Regions from separate parts of the Homo sapiens genome. Here region 2 is linked to region 1. Evidence: promoter capture Hi-C in 16 types of primary human blood cells and fetal thymus (Javierre and others, 2016). All regions are on one chromosome and are shown on one strand. The core of a region is centred on a gene start or on the middle of the fragment in contact, and the rest is flanking DNA. Distances in the headings are between cores, read along the strand shown.

Evidence for each region. The method cuts DNA at HindIII sites, captures the fragments that hold promoters and counts their contacts. A CHiCAGO score of 5 or more calls a contact.
Region 2: a contact is called between a fragment that was not itself captured here and the fragment with the promoter of HEY1 in region 1, in 1 of 17 cell types (total CD8 T cells). The highest score is 5.3, in total CD8 T cells.

The regions. Positions count from the first base shown.
Region 1 is chr8:79,765,504-79,771,754 of GRCh38, forward strand. It overlaps HEY1 (hes related family bHLH transcription factor with YRPW motif 1), which reads right to left and starts at 2,264. Exons shown (of 5, transcript NM_012258.4): 1 at 2,072-2,264; 2 at 1,716-1,791; 3 at 1,506-1,589; 4 at 1,148-1,229; 5 at 1-268. The coding sequence starts at 2,160. LINC01607 (long intergenic non-protein coding RNA 1607) reads left to right here and starts at 2,639. Exons shown (of 4, transcript NR_125410.1): 1 at 2,639-2,715. It overlaps LOC101927040 (a long non-coding RNA gene), which reads right to left. Exons shown (of 6, transcript NR_110954.1): 5 at 6,064-6,119; 6 at 3,869-5,502. RefSeq lists enhancers at 1-200, 1,787-1,836 and silencers at 2,287-2,766, 2,807-3,166, 3,267-3,436. The HindIII fragment of the contact is 6,216 bases long and covers 1-3,750 here.
Region 2 is chr8:81,845,174-81,851,424 of GRCh38, forward strand. LINC02235 (long intergenic non-protein coding RNA 2235) reads left to right here. Exons shown (of 8, transcript NR_170320.1): 3 at 3,818-3,934; 4 at 4,213-4,346. Among named protein-coding and RNA genes, the nearest start is that of LINC02235, 5.7 kb to the left of the region's middle. The HindIII fragment of the contact is 676 bases long and covers 2,482-3,157 here.

The sequences.
Region 1 (6,251 bases), core at 1,014-3,513:
CCGTTCTGGGGCAGCAACAGCGGGTGCGCGATGTGCGGGTGATGTCCGAAGACGGTCCCCCAGGGAATGTGTCCGAGGCCCGCGTGGGCGCCGCTCGCGGCTTCCCGCTGGGAAGCGTAGTTGTTGAGATGCGAAACCAGTCGAACTCGAAGCGGGTCAGAGGCATCTAGTCCTTCAATGATGCTCAGATAACGCGCAACTTCTGCCAGGCATTCCCGAAATCCCAAACTCCGATAGTCCATAGCAAGGGCGTGCGCGTCAAAGTAACCTAAGCAAAAGAACAAAAGAAAAATCTCAGGGCTTTGCCCGTTTCCCTCATTTCTTAAGTCCCAGAGACAGCCCTTCCTGGCAGATACCTGCATCCCTTAAAACACAACAGTCAGGGGTTCTTCCGAAAGTCTTTGGAATCAACAAAAATCTTTGCATTAATCAACATAAGCAGAATGTGTTTGCTAATGCAAGTTCAAAGCCCAATTAGAAGCTGCAGAGCAGAAATTGGAATTATACCCTACCAGCAGATGAAACTATGTTCATTCCTTTAATGTTTTCCCTCAACAACAACAAAAAATACATCAAGGGCAGAGAAACCACAGAGCAGTGAAATTCATTAGACACACAGATGTAAGTTATCATCGCGGAGCTTTTAGGCACTTGGACCTCAGTAAAGCATTTTCCTGCTGGAGAGACATACACACAGACCTTGGTCTCCCGTTAGGTTTCCTTTACTTAACCAGAATACATTTCTTTCCTCAAGAGGCATGTGGCAGCACCTTTTTTTTAAAATCCCGTATACCAAAAATAAGACCACATATTGTTTTTAAATGCTTTTTCTCAAAATAGCAATGGACAAATGTGAAAGCTACCTGATCTGAATCAGGGCTGTCACAACTTTTGAAGACCTCACAAATAATAGGTATTTTTCCAAAAGATGCACTAGCTCAATCCGCAGAGAGCTGGGGTGGTGAATTCACTGGAGAAGATTCTATGTGCATTCGAAAATGTACTGACAGGGAACTGCACACACCACACACCGTTCTCTCCCCACCCCCAAAGAAAAATCAGGCAGCTACTGCACCAATCCTGGCCTTCAGCCGCTGCTCACTCTTTGCCAACCATTCAGAGCCCCCACTAGGTCTAGGAGATGTACCTTTCCCTCCTGCCGTATGCAGCATTTTCAGGTGATCCACGGTCATCTGCAGGATCTCGGCTTTTTCTAGCTTAGCAGATCCCTAAAGATGAGAATGGCAAAAGATTGATTTGGCACAAGTTCCTTTGGGGAACAATTTAAAATATGCAAACATATATACAAAGATACATGCTTTGTAAATCGTAAAGCATGGACTAAAGCAAAATCAGTTGTCTTCACAAAATACGCTGGTATCTGTGTACGAATTCATCTAGGCACAAGCAACACAGCTATTTTCCAAGGCGGATGAGATTAATGAGGGGAAGATTCAGAAGGTGCAGATAGCTATGCTGAGAGCTTTACCTACTTGCTCCATTACCTGCTTCTCAAAAGCACTGGGTACCAGCCTTCTCAGCTCAGACAAACTGTTATTGATCCGGTCTCGTCGGCGCTTCTCAATTATCTGCAGAAGGCAAGCAAAACAAAGGAAGGCATTACCATTACGACTGTAAATTTCAAAGACAAAAAAAAAGGTGGTTATTTCCGTTAATCAATAACAAAAATAAAAGGAGAGTGTAAAGAGACTCACTCCTCTCCGTCTTTTTCTGGCCAAAATCTGGGAAGATGTAGTTGGGGACATGGAACCTAGAGCCGAACTCAAGTTTCTGAAAAGAGAAAAAGAACAAACAAAAACTGAAATCGCCGTTAAACGAGGAGAGGTGATCTGAGAGGTCGCCCCCACACCCTCCCCGCACTCAGACTTTTTTTGCCACTTGGGCTGGAAGGCACCTAGGGGTTCCCTGGCCGCAGGCTGCCGCCAGCCTGCGACGCGCGGAGGTCAGCGCAGGGCACCGGCGCGCCAAGGGTCCTAGCCCGCTGTCACCGCGGCAGGCCTGCGCTCGCCTCCCGCTCTGGCTCGGCTCCGCTCCGCCGCCGCCAGCTCACCCATTCTCGTCCGCACTCTCCTTCTCCACCTCGATGGTCTCGTCCAGCTCGCTGTCCGAGGAGCTGTACTCGGGGTGAGCTCGCTTCATGCTGGCTCCCTGGGGGTTCCTGGGGAGGGTCGGCGCGGCGGGCAGGGAGGAGTTAACTACAGCGGCGCCTCTCCGCTCTCGGCTGCTTGCGTTCCGCACACACTGATCCCGCTCACGCTTTGCCTCTGGTTAAAACTCAACCATCCTTTCCCACGCTGAGCCCCTTCCCAGGGCCCTGGGGAGGGCGGGGGAGTGGGGAAGGCGGGCGAGGGGGCGGAGAGGCGGGGCGGCAACTCCAGGGCAACAGCCGCCCCCCGGCCAATCCGGTTTCTCGCGCCGCTGATTGGCAGCCGCTCCGGGGAGGGGCGGGAGCGAGGCCGAGGGCTCTAGCGGACCGCGCCCCCGCCCTCCGCGCCCGCCCCTGCCCGGCGGCGGTGCGTCGGCTCCGCGGGGGCTCTGTCCAGCCTGCACTCAGGGGAAGGAGGAGGCGCGGGCGGCGGGGAGGCGCGGGAGGCCGGGCCGGGACACAAGCCCGCCGGCGGCCGCGGCTCCTCCCCGCCCCGCGCGCCCCGATTGGCCTGGCCGCGCGCCAGGGCCGAGCCTGCAGCGCCTCCGGTGAGCCGCACGCGCCGCGGGCCGTGGGAAAGTGCCGGCGCCGCGGCCGCCAGCCAATCCGGGCGGCCGGCGACGGCGACGGCGGCGGCCGCGCTGGCGGCGGCGGCGGCGGCGCTGGGCGTCCGCATGAATGGAGAAGAATGGGCAGGCGGGGAGCCGGGCCGCGCGAGGGCGCGCCGGCGGGGGCTGGGCGGCCGCCGGCCGGGCCCCCAGTGTGAACCTGTAATCGGAGCCTGGGCGCCGGCCGGCCTCGGAAGCCGCCGCCTAGCGCCACCGTAAATCTCGCCCGCGTGGCCGCCAGTGCCCGGCGGCTGGAGGCGCGCGCTGTTAGTGGGGCCGTGCCGGGTGCACCTGGCCGGGCTGCGCGCCGGCGGCTCCGCGGAACCCGCAGGGAGCCGGGAGAGGGGGCGCCGGGCGCGTCCACAGTGGCCACCAGCCCAGGGGCCGGTCACATGGAGGAGCAAGCTGTGGGCTCAGGGGACGCTCTTTTTGATTTCTGGGACCGAGGCCGCACATGCAGCCAGACTCGTTTCCGCAGGGGCTTCCCAGCCGCGGAATGGAATGAATACCCCTGTGCATCTCATTTCCGGGGAAGGGGAGCACTTGTTTTTTCGGCCGCCTTGGGGAAAAAAAAACCCAACGGTCCCTGGGAATAATCATTATGCTGGGATTTTTTTGTTGTTCCCCCGCTGCCCCCCCCCCCGCCCCCTCCCCCCGGCGGCCAGATCCTCTCAGCGGGCGACAGGGTGGCGGTGCTGGCGTTTGCGTCTGAGGCCGGCCTTGCTGAGGGAATGCACGTCTCTGGCCCCAGACACACACCTCTGGCTTCGGTGGCTTGGCGTGGCGTGTACTGGGTGCCACGTGAAGTCCCCCCCGAGTCCACTAAGAAGACAGATTTTTTAAAAAATACAGTTGTAAATCTCGAAACTGATTTCTGATTCCAGAAACAGAATGGTTGTTTTAAATTTGAAAATCCGGTCTTCTGTCCCTTACAAAGGTACACAGCAATTCGCATTCATCTCAGATCCACTCTGAAGCTTGTAGTCCTGTCTGTGAGGGAAAGCTTAATATCCATCGGTGAGAATAACAAAAGGCGTTTTCTCTTTGCAAAAAGCTTCCTGGTTTCTAGACTTCCTTATTGATCTCAATGCTATTTTTTTTTTGAGATGGTGTCTCACTCTGTCGCCCAGGCTGGAGTGCAGTGGCGCGATCTCGGCTCACTGCAACCTCCGCCTCCCGGGTTGAAGCAATTCTCCTGCCTCGGCCTCCCCAGAAGCTGGGATTACAGACGCGCGCCACCATGCTCAGCTAATTGTTTTTGGTATTTTTAGTAGAAACGAGGTTTCACCATGTTGGCCAGGCTTGTCTCAAACTCCTGACCAAAGGTGATCCGCCTGCCTTGGCCTCCCAAAGTACTGGGATTACAGGCCTAAGCCACCGCGCTCGGCCTCAATGCCATCTTAACACATCCTGGATGCCAAGCACTCTGAGTGGCCGGCCTGGGCCTAATCCATAGTTCCTCTCTGGGCACCCCCATCCCTCCACCACCGCCCCCAACGGGAAATACAACCTCCTGGCTCCCACTGAAGCTTATTCCACTTCACATCACCTCCAGCCCTGAGCCTTTCCATGCAGCCCCTCTGCTTCCCTGTCTAGGCTGGGCCCTTCCATCAGCCAGCCTGGGTTTGTTGCTGCTGGCACCCCAGACCTCTGGCTTCCTGAAACTCCACCGCATGCTGCCTGTTAGTTGTCAGTCCGAGGTCAATCCCACCAGCCGACTTTCTCTCTGGAAGTGCAAATTTTAAGGCTCCTTCCTGGCCCTCCCAGTCTTCAGTCCAGGGCATCCATCACTACTTCCTGCCTCTTCCCTCCCAGAAACTGATGGTCCAGGCATAGGAAACCATCCCACCTGCTCCCCTCTGCCTTCCAGAAGTCCCTCTGACCTTCCATTTCTTTCCCCAAAGTGACAGGCCACCCTTCCCCAGAACCAACGTGTCTACTTCCCCTCTGGCTCTATAGATTTTCCCAGCCTCTGGCACCTACAATGAGTCAGCCTTTCCTGCTTTGGCTCATTTCTGCTGCTGTGGAGAGGCGTGGACAAGCTGCAGATGTTGAGTGAGACGAGACCGGGTGGGGTTAGGGATGCTTAACTCTACATTGGCATCCAAATGAAATATTGCTCACATGTTCATGATTACTTTTATGTCAAAAAGGAGGTTCTCTACGGCCAGGCGCAGTGGCTCACACCTGTAATCCTAACACTTTGAGAGGCTGAGGCAGGAGGATTGCTTGAGTCCAGGAGCTCCAGATCAGCCTGGGCAACATAGCAAGATCCCCATTTCTTAAAAAAGAAAATTAAAAATTAGCCAGGCATGGCATGCACCTGTAGTCCTAGCTTCGTAGAAAGCTGAGGTGGGAGGTTTGCGTGAGGCCAGGAGTGCCAGACCAGACTGGGCAACACGGCAAGATCCCCATCTCTAGAAAAAATTTAAAAATGAACCGGGCATGGTGGCCTGTGTCCTAGCTACTCTGGGGGCCGAGGCTTGAGCCCAGGAGGTCAACGCTACAATGAGCTATGATCATTGCACAGCACTCCAGCCTGGGTAACAGAATGAGACTCTGTCTCTAAAAAAATTACAAATGAGGTTGTCTTGCTTCTTAAGTTTGACTGATTTTTCAATGCTTCCAATAAATACGTATTCTTCTATGTGCCATGTGCTGTGCTAGGGCCTGAAAACACAAAGGTGACCCAAAAGTCATCCATCTTGCACTCCTAGAACTCACATCCTAGGGAGAAGACAGAGAATACACAGTAAAGTAGTTATGGATGCTCCAGTGCTTGGAAGCACTTGTTGGTAAGGAAAAACGAGGGGGTGAGGATTCTTTATGAGGTCTGGGAAGGCCTGTTCTGAGTTTGGAAGGGACTTAAGATCAAGAAGAGGTGAACTAGGTGGTTCAGTAATAACCGGGAAGGAAGGGGCGGAGACCTCTTCCTTGAGTGGTGGGATCAGAGGAGAGAGTTACACTGAGGGCACCAGGCCCAATTTTCTCCCATCTGCTGTGTAGAAGGGATTTACCCCTGGAGGCTTTGAGTGAAGAACGACTTTAAACATCTTTGCTACCCTGAATGAAAGGTACGTCCTGCAAATTGACCCCTTCTGCAACTTAAATGGGACTGCCCAGGCCTGGCCCCTCAGGAAAAGGACCTTTTACCATTTGGGGGTGGGGAAGTGGGCAAGTGTTGCCTTTTATAATTCGTCTCTCCTGAAGAATCACCCTTTTTTATTTCGCTCAAAGGCCTATTTTCTTGCCTGGTTTGTAGAGTCTGGGTTCAGTTACTTAGCTTACCGTTCCGCAGGCTGCTTTTATCTGCGTTCCCTTGCAGAAGAGATACTCCAGATGTCCTGGAAGAGAGAGACACTCCAGATTTAGGAATTCACTCGAAAGGCCAGGCCCAGGTGAGGGCCTCCCCAGAGGAAAAGTGGTAGAATCTCCAGGGAGGAACAGCTCATCCTCAAACTCCAGCTGCAGCATTT
Region 2 (6,251 bases), core at 1,570-4,069, 2.1 Mb after region 1:
TCTGGCACTAGAGGATTGACTGCACCCGCTCCCACCAAGGGGCTCAGTTAGGCAAAAGTCTAGCAGTGTGAAAGGAGGAATTAGATGAAGACTGAAGGGGCCTAGAGTCTTCCTCACTGCCCCTGTCCAGGAACATCATAATTACTATTGCAGAGCCCTGGGTAACTAGATGTCATGGGTACCCAAATTCAGTTTTTTTTTTCCAATACAGGGGCGAATTACTCTGTCCTTACTGCTTATGCAGGAAAACTTTCCTCCCAGTCTAAGAGTGTTCCGGGAATGGAAGGAAAGCCACAAACGAGATTCTTTACTTCTCCTTTGTCAGTTTGAGAAACAAATGTTCCAACATAAATCTTTAGTAGTTCCAAGCTGCCTTGTCCACCTGTTGGGAAGCGATATTATCATTAAAATAGGGGCACTACTACAAATTTAAGCATTACCCAGTAAAATTGCTAATAGTCAAAAATACAGACAATATCCCAGACCACATTAATAAACAGGTTAACCTGCTAGCATGTTATGCTGGGAAGCCAGGTGTATTAGTCCATTTTCACACTGCTGATAAGGACAAACTCGAGACTGGATGATTTACAAAAGAAAGAAATTTAATGGACTTGCAGTTCCATATAGCTGGGGAGGCCTCCAATCATGGTGGAAGGCAAGGGAGGAGCAAGTCACATCCTACGTGGATGGTAGTAGGCAAAGAGAGAGGTTGTGCAGGCAAACTCCCTCTTATAAAACTCTCAGATCTTGTGAGGCTTGTTCATGATCATGAGAACAGCAAGGGAAAGACCTTCCCCTATGATTCAATTACCTCCCACTGGGTGTCTCCTATAACATGTGGGAATTCAAGATGAGATTTGGGTGGAGACACAGCCAAACCATATCACCAGGGAAAGCTAAAACAGCAGTGCCAGTCAAAATACCAGTTTAAAGACCCCAGCTATTGCCCCAATTGAAAACAATACCCATTTAAGCTGGAAGCAAGAAAAGGCCTGGCATCCATAGTTGAGATATTGCTTACCCATGAGCTCTTAAAAACCTGCAATTCTCCCTGAAACACCCCCATCTTAACCATTCTAAAGCCCTTGAGGGAATACCTGCTAGTACAGGATTTCAGAATAATTTATCACACTGTTATCCCCGTCCACCCATTGGTGGTGGATCCATATACCCTCCTGGCTTAGGTGCCAGGGGATGCAAAATGTTTCTCCTAGACCTAAAAGATGCTTTCATCTCTATTCCTCTGGCCCCAGAATCCCAATACCTTTTTGCCTTTGAATGGGAAAATCCTAATACCAGAAAAAAAAAAAACAATACATTTGGACAGTACTCCCTCAGGGCTTTCAGGATAGCCCTGATTTCTTAGCCTGATCTGTAGAGAGGGATCTGAGGGATCTGCAATTGGAGAATGGAAGTATATTCCAGTATGTGGTTGAACTTCTTGTGTGTAGCCCAACCCAGGAGGCTTCTGACCAAAATACTATAAAAACGTTGAATTTCCTGGCTGACAGAGGATGTGAAGTGTCCAAAAAGAAGGCTCAGATTACCCTCCAATGGATCCAATATTTAGGGTATGTCTTAACACCGGGAACCCGACAAATATCCCCAGAATGAGTGCAAGCCATATGTGGTTGCCCCACAGCCACCAAGCGCAGCTTTGTTCTTTCTGGGGAATGGCTGGGTTTTGCAGAATATTGGTACCAAATTTGGGGCTTGTAGCAAAGCTCGTATATGAAGCAACAAGGAGGCCTGAAAATGAGCTAACGGAATTGACCCCAGAAATGAGAAGCCTTCACCAAGCTAAAATAGGCCCTTACCAGGCTCCTGCTCTTGGCATCCCAGACATAACTAAGCCCTTCTTGTATGTAGCTGAGAAGGGCGTAGCTGTGGGAGTGCTAGCCTAGAAATTAGGATCAGAACCCAGACCAACTGCCTGCTTTTCAAGGAAGTTGGATGGAGCAGCCTCGAGATGACCAAGTTTCCTGCAGGCAATAGCCACTGCTATGTTTGTGGAGGAAGCCACTAAAATCACCCTGGGCCAACCACTGGAAGTTCTAACCCCCCATCAGGTAAAGCCAGTCTTAGAGATAAAAGGACACATGTGGATGATGGAGGAAAGGTTAAACATATGCCAGGCCATGCTGCTAGACAATCCAGATGTAACCCTTAAAACTTGTAACACCTTGAATCCAGCTTCATTGCTACCCACAGGCCCAATAACTGATGATTCCTGTGAGCAGGTCATTGTACACACATATATTAGCTGGCCTAATTTAAAAGATTAGCCTCTCCCAGATTCTGAAGATAACTGGTTCACAGATGGCAGTAGTTTTGTGTCAAATGGGGAGTGCTGAGTTGGATATGCAATGGTAAATCACAACACCATTATTGAAGCCCAGCCACTGCCCCCTGGCACATCAGCACAAAATACTGAAATCATTGTTCTTACCTGAGCACTAATGTTGAGACAAAGGAAAAAGCTTAACATCTATCCAGATTCTAAATATGCGTTCCTTATGTTTCATGCTCATGCTACAATCTGGAAAGAAAAGGGACTACTAAATAGCAAATACTCCCCAATAAAGCACGGGCCTGAAATTCTTCAGCTGTTGGAAGCAATACACCTGCCAAAGGCTGTAGCTATAATCCATTGTAGGGGGCATCAAAGGGACTTACTTCCTATAGCACAAGGGAACAGAAGGGCTGATAGAGAAGCTAAAGCCGTATCCCTCAGGGTGCAATCCCAACAGATCCTAGCACTGCTTCCTTTCTATGATTCCTGAATGGATCCTGAATACACGCTATAGGAAGAACAGTTAATAAAGGAACAAGGGGGACAAAAATAAGTATCCGGGTGGTATATGGAATCAAACTAAATCTCCCTCAAACAGCCCAGTGGAGATGCCACCCTGGCCATGGTTAACAGGCTCTTCATTGGGCCTAACTTAGATTCAGTGGTTAAGCAGGTCTGTCAATCCTGCTCACTGTGTGCACTTAACAGTCCAGGAAACAAAATGCTTCCTCTAATAGAATCAGTCCAGAGGAGAGGAACTTACCCAGGGGAACACTGTCAATTAGACTTCACCCAAATGCCCGCTTGTAGAGGATACAAGTTTTTGTTAGTCCTGATAGATACCTTTACTGGTTGGGTCGAAGCTTATCCTACCAGAACAGAGAAGGCTATTGAGGTTATAAAGTTTCTCTTACAAATAAATAGTCCCTTAGTTTGGGTAACCTCAGAGTCTCCAAAGAGATAATGGCCCATCCTTTATCTCCCAAATAACTAAAGGGGTCGCTAAGACCTTCAGAATCAAATACTATTTACATTCAGCATGGAGGACTCAATTCTTCGGGAAAGTAGAAAGGGTTAACCAAACTCTAGAACAAGCATTAGGTAAGCTATGTTAGGAAACATCAGAAATTTGGGTCAGCTTACTGACTATAGCCCTCTTAAGGATCTGCAATACCTCTAGAGCAAAAATTAACATAAACCCATATGAAATGTTATACGGAAGGCCATTCTTAACTAATGATCTAATTACTGATCCAGAAACAGCTGGTTTAGTGAAATACCTAGTTAATGGACAATTTCAGCAGGCTTTCACAAAAGTTTGGAACTCAAAGGTTCCCCATACCAGGAGCTAACCAGCATCCCAAAATCAGGCCAAGAGATAAGATACTTGTTAAAACTTGGAAGGAGGGATCGCCTGCTCAACAACTACAGCCCAAATGGAAGGGAACATTTTCAGTGGTGCTGGCCATGCTTTCCATGGTCAAAGTATTAGGATTTAAATAATTGGATACATCTTTCAAGGATCAAGTCTGTGATACCTGAAGCCTCAGACCTGGAACCTGAAGTTTCCTTCAGCCACTACACCTGTGAACCTGTGGAAGACCTGAAGTGCCTGTTTAGAAGACAGCCAAAAGATAAGTAAATGCCTACCAACTTTCCTTGGTGTTTTTGTTGCATAGTTATTGTAGGTTGGATAATAATAGCCATATTTTTATATATTTGGCTGGATAATAATAGCCATATTTTTATATATTTTTGCAGTTTTTCTTTTTTCAAATGTTTGGAATCACTCCCTTTGTAGCAATTAAGCAGAATGTTTTAATTTCTCCCTATAACAAACATTCCTGATAGCATAGGTATCCACCCCCTGAAGTTCCCATTAGATCTTTTAACCAAATTCATTTCCTCTCACCTAGAGACCATTGAGCTTCATATGATCATGCAACAACATTGCCAGCCAGTTCCAAATGAAGATAGCACCCCCAGCGATCAATAAACTACCCTGCCTCCACTGGATAGAGCAGGGAAAAATTTCCATGATCAGCAATAGGTAGGGATTGCACCCCAAGTTAGCATGAAGCAGCTACAGAAGAAAGACCATCAATCCCTCTGCTTCCCATAAAGATTTATGGGAATCACATCTCTCAGGGGGAATATGAGGCAGGAAAATAGGGTCTGGAAGCAGGGAACCTAAGGTTTATTCATGCTGACTGGATATCAGAGGCTACTCTCTTTACGACCTCTCCTTCTCTGTGGCAGTTGAAAAATGAGACCAATATCCCTGATGAACATCAATGCAAAAATCCTCAATAAAATATTGGCAAACAGAATCCAGCAGCACATCAAAAAGCTTATCTACCACAATCAAGTCAGCTTCATCCCTGGGATGCAAGGCTGGTTCAACATATGCAAATCAATAAACATAATCCATCATATAAACAGAAGCAATGACTAAAGCCACATGATTATCTCAATAGATGCAGAAAAAGCATTTGACAAAATTCAACAGCCCTTCATGCTAAACACTCTTAATAAACTAGGTATTGATGGGGATGTATCTCAAAATAATAAGAGCTATTTATGACAAACCCACAGCCAATATCATACTGAATGGGCAAAAACTGAAGCATTCCCTTTGAAAACTGGCACAAGACAAGGATGCTCTCTCTCACCACTCCTATTCAACATAGTGTTGGAAATTCTGGCCAGGGCAATCAGGTAAGAGAGAGAAAGAAAAGGTATTAAATTGGGAAAAGAGGAAGTCAAATTGTCCCTGTTTGCAGATGACATGATTGTATATTTAGAAAAACCCCATAGTCTCAGCCCGAAATCTTCTTAAGCTGATAAGCAACTTCAGCAAAGTTTCAGGATGCAAAATCAATGTACAAAAATCATAAGCATTCCTATATACCAATGATAGACAAACAGAGAATCAAATCATGAGTGAACTCCCATTCACAATTGCTAGAAAGAGAATAAAATACCTAGGAATCCAACTTACAAGGGATGTGAAGGACCTCTTCAAGGAGAACTACAAACCACTGCTCAACAAAATGAAAGAGGACACAAACAAATGGAAGAGCATTCCATGCTCATGGATAGGAAGAATCAATGTCATGAAAATGGCCATATTGCCCAAGGTAATTTATAGATTCAATGCCATTTCCATCAAGCTACCAATGTCTTTCTTCACAGAATTGGAAAAAACTACTCTAAAGTTCATATGGAACCAAAAAAGAGCCTGCATAGCCAAGACAATCCTAAGTAAAAAGAACAAAGCTAGAGGCATCACACTACCTGACTTCAAATTATACTACAAGGCTACAGTAACCAAAACAGCATGGTACTGGTACCAAAACAGGGATATAGACTAATGGAACAGAACAGAGGCCTCAGAAATAAGACCACACATCTACAACCATCTGATCTTTGACAAACCTGACAAAAACCAGAAATGGGGAAAGGATTCCCTATTTAATAAATGGTGCTGGGAAAACTGGCTAGCCATATGTAGAAAGCTGAAACTGGATCCCTTCCTTACACCTTATACAAAAATTAACTCAAGATGGATTAAAGACTTAAATGTAAGACCTAAAACCATAAAAATCCTAGAAGAAAACCTAGGCAATACCATTCAGGACGTAGGCATGGCCAAAGACTTCATGACTAAAACACCAAAAGCAATGGCAACAAAAGCCAAAATTGACAAATGGAATCTAATTAAACTAAAGAGCTTCTGCACAGCAAAAGAAACTATCACTAGAGTGAACAGGCAACCTACAGAATGCGAGGAAATCTTTGCAATCTACCCATCTGACAAAGGGCTAATATCCAGAATCTACAAATAACTTAAGCAAATTTACAAGAAAAAAACAACCCCATCAAAAAGTGGACAAAGGATATGAACAGACACTTCTCAAAAGAAGACATTTATGCAGCCAACAGACACATGAAA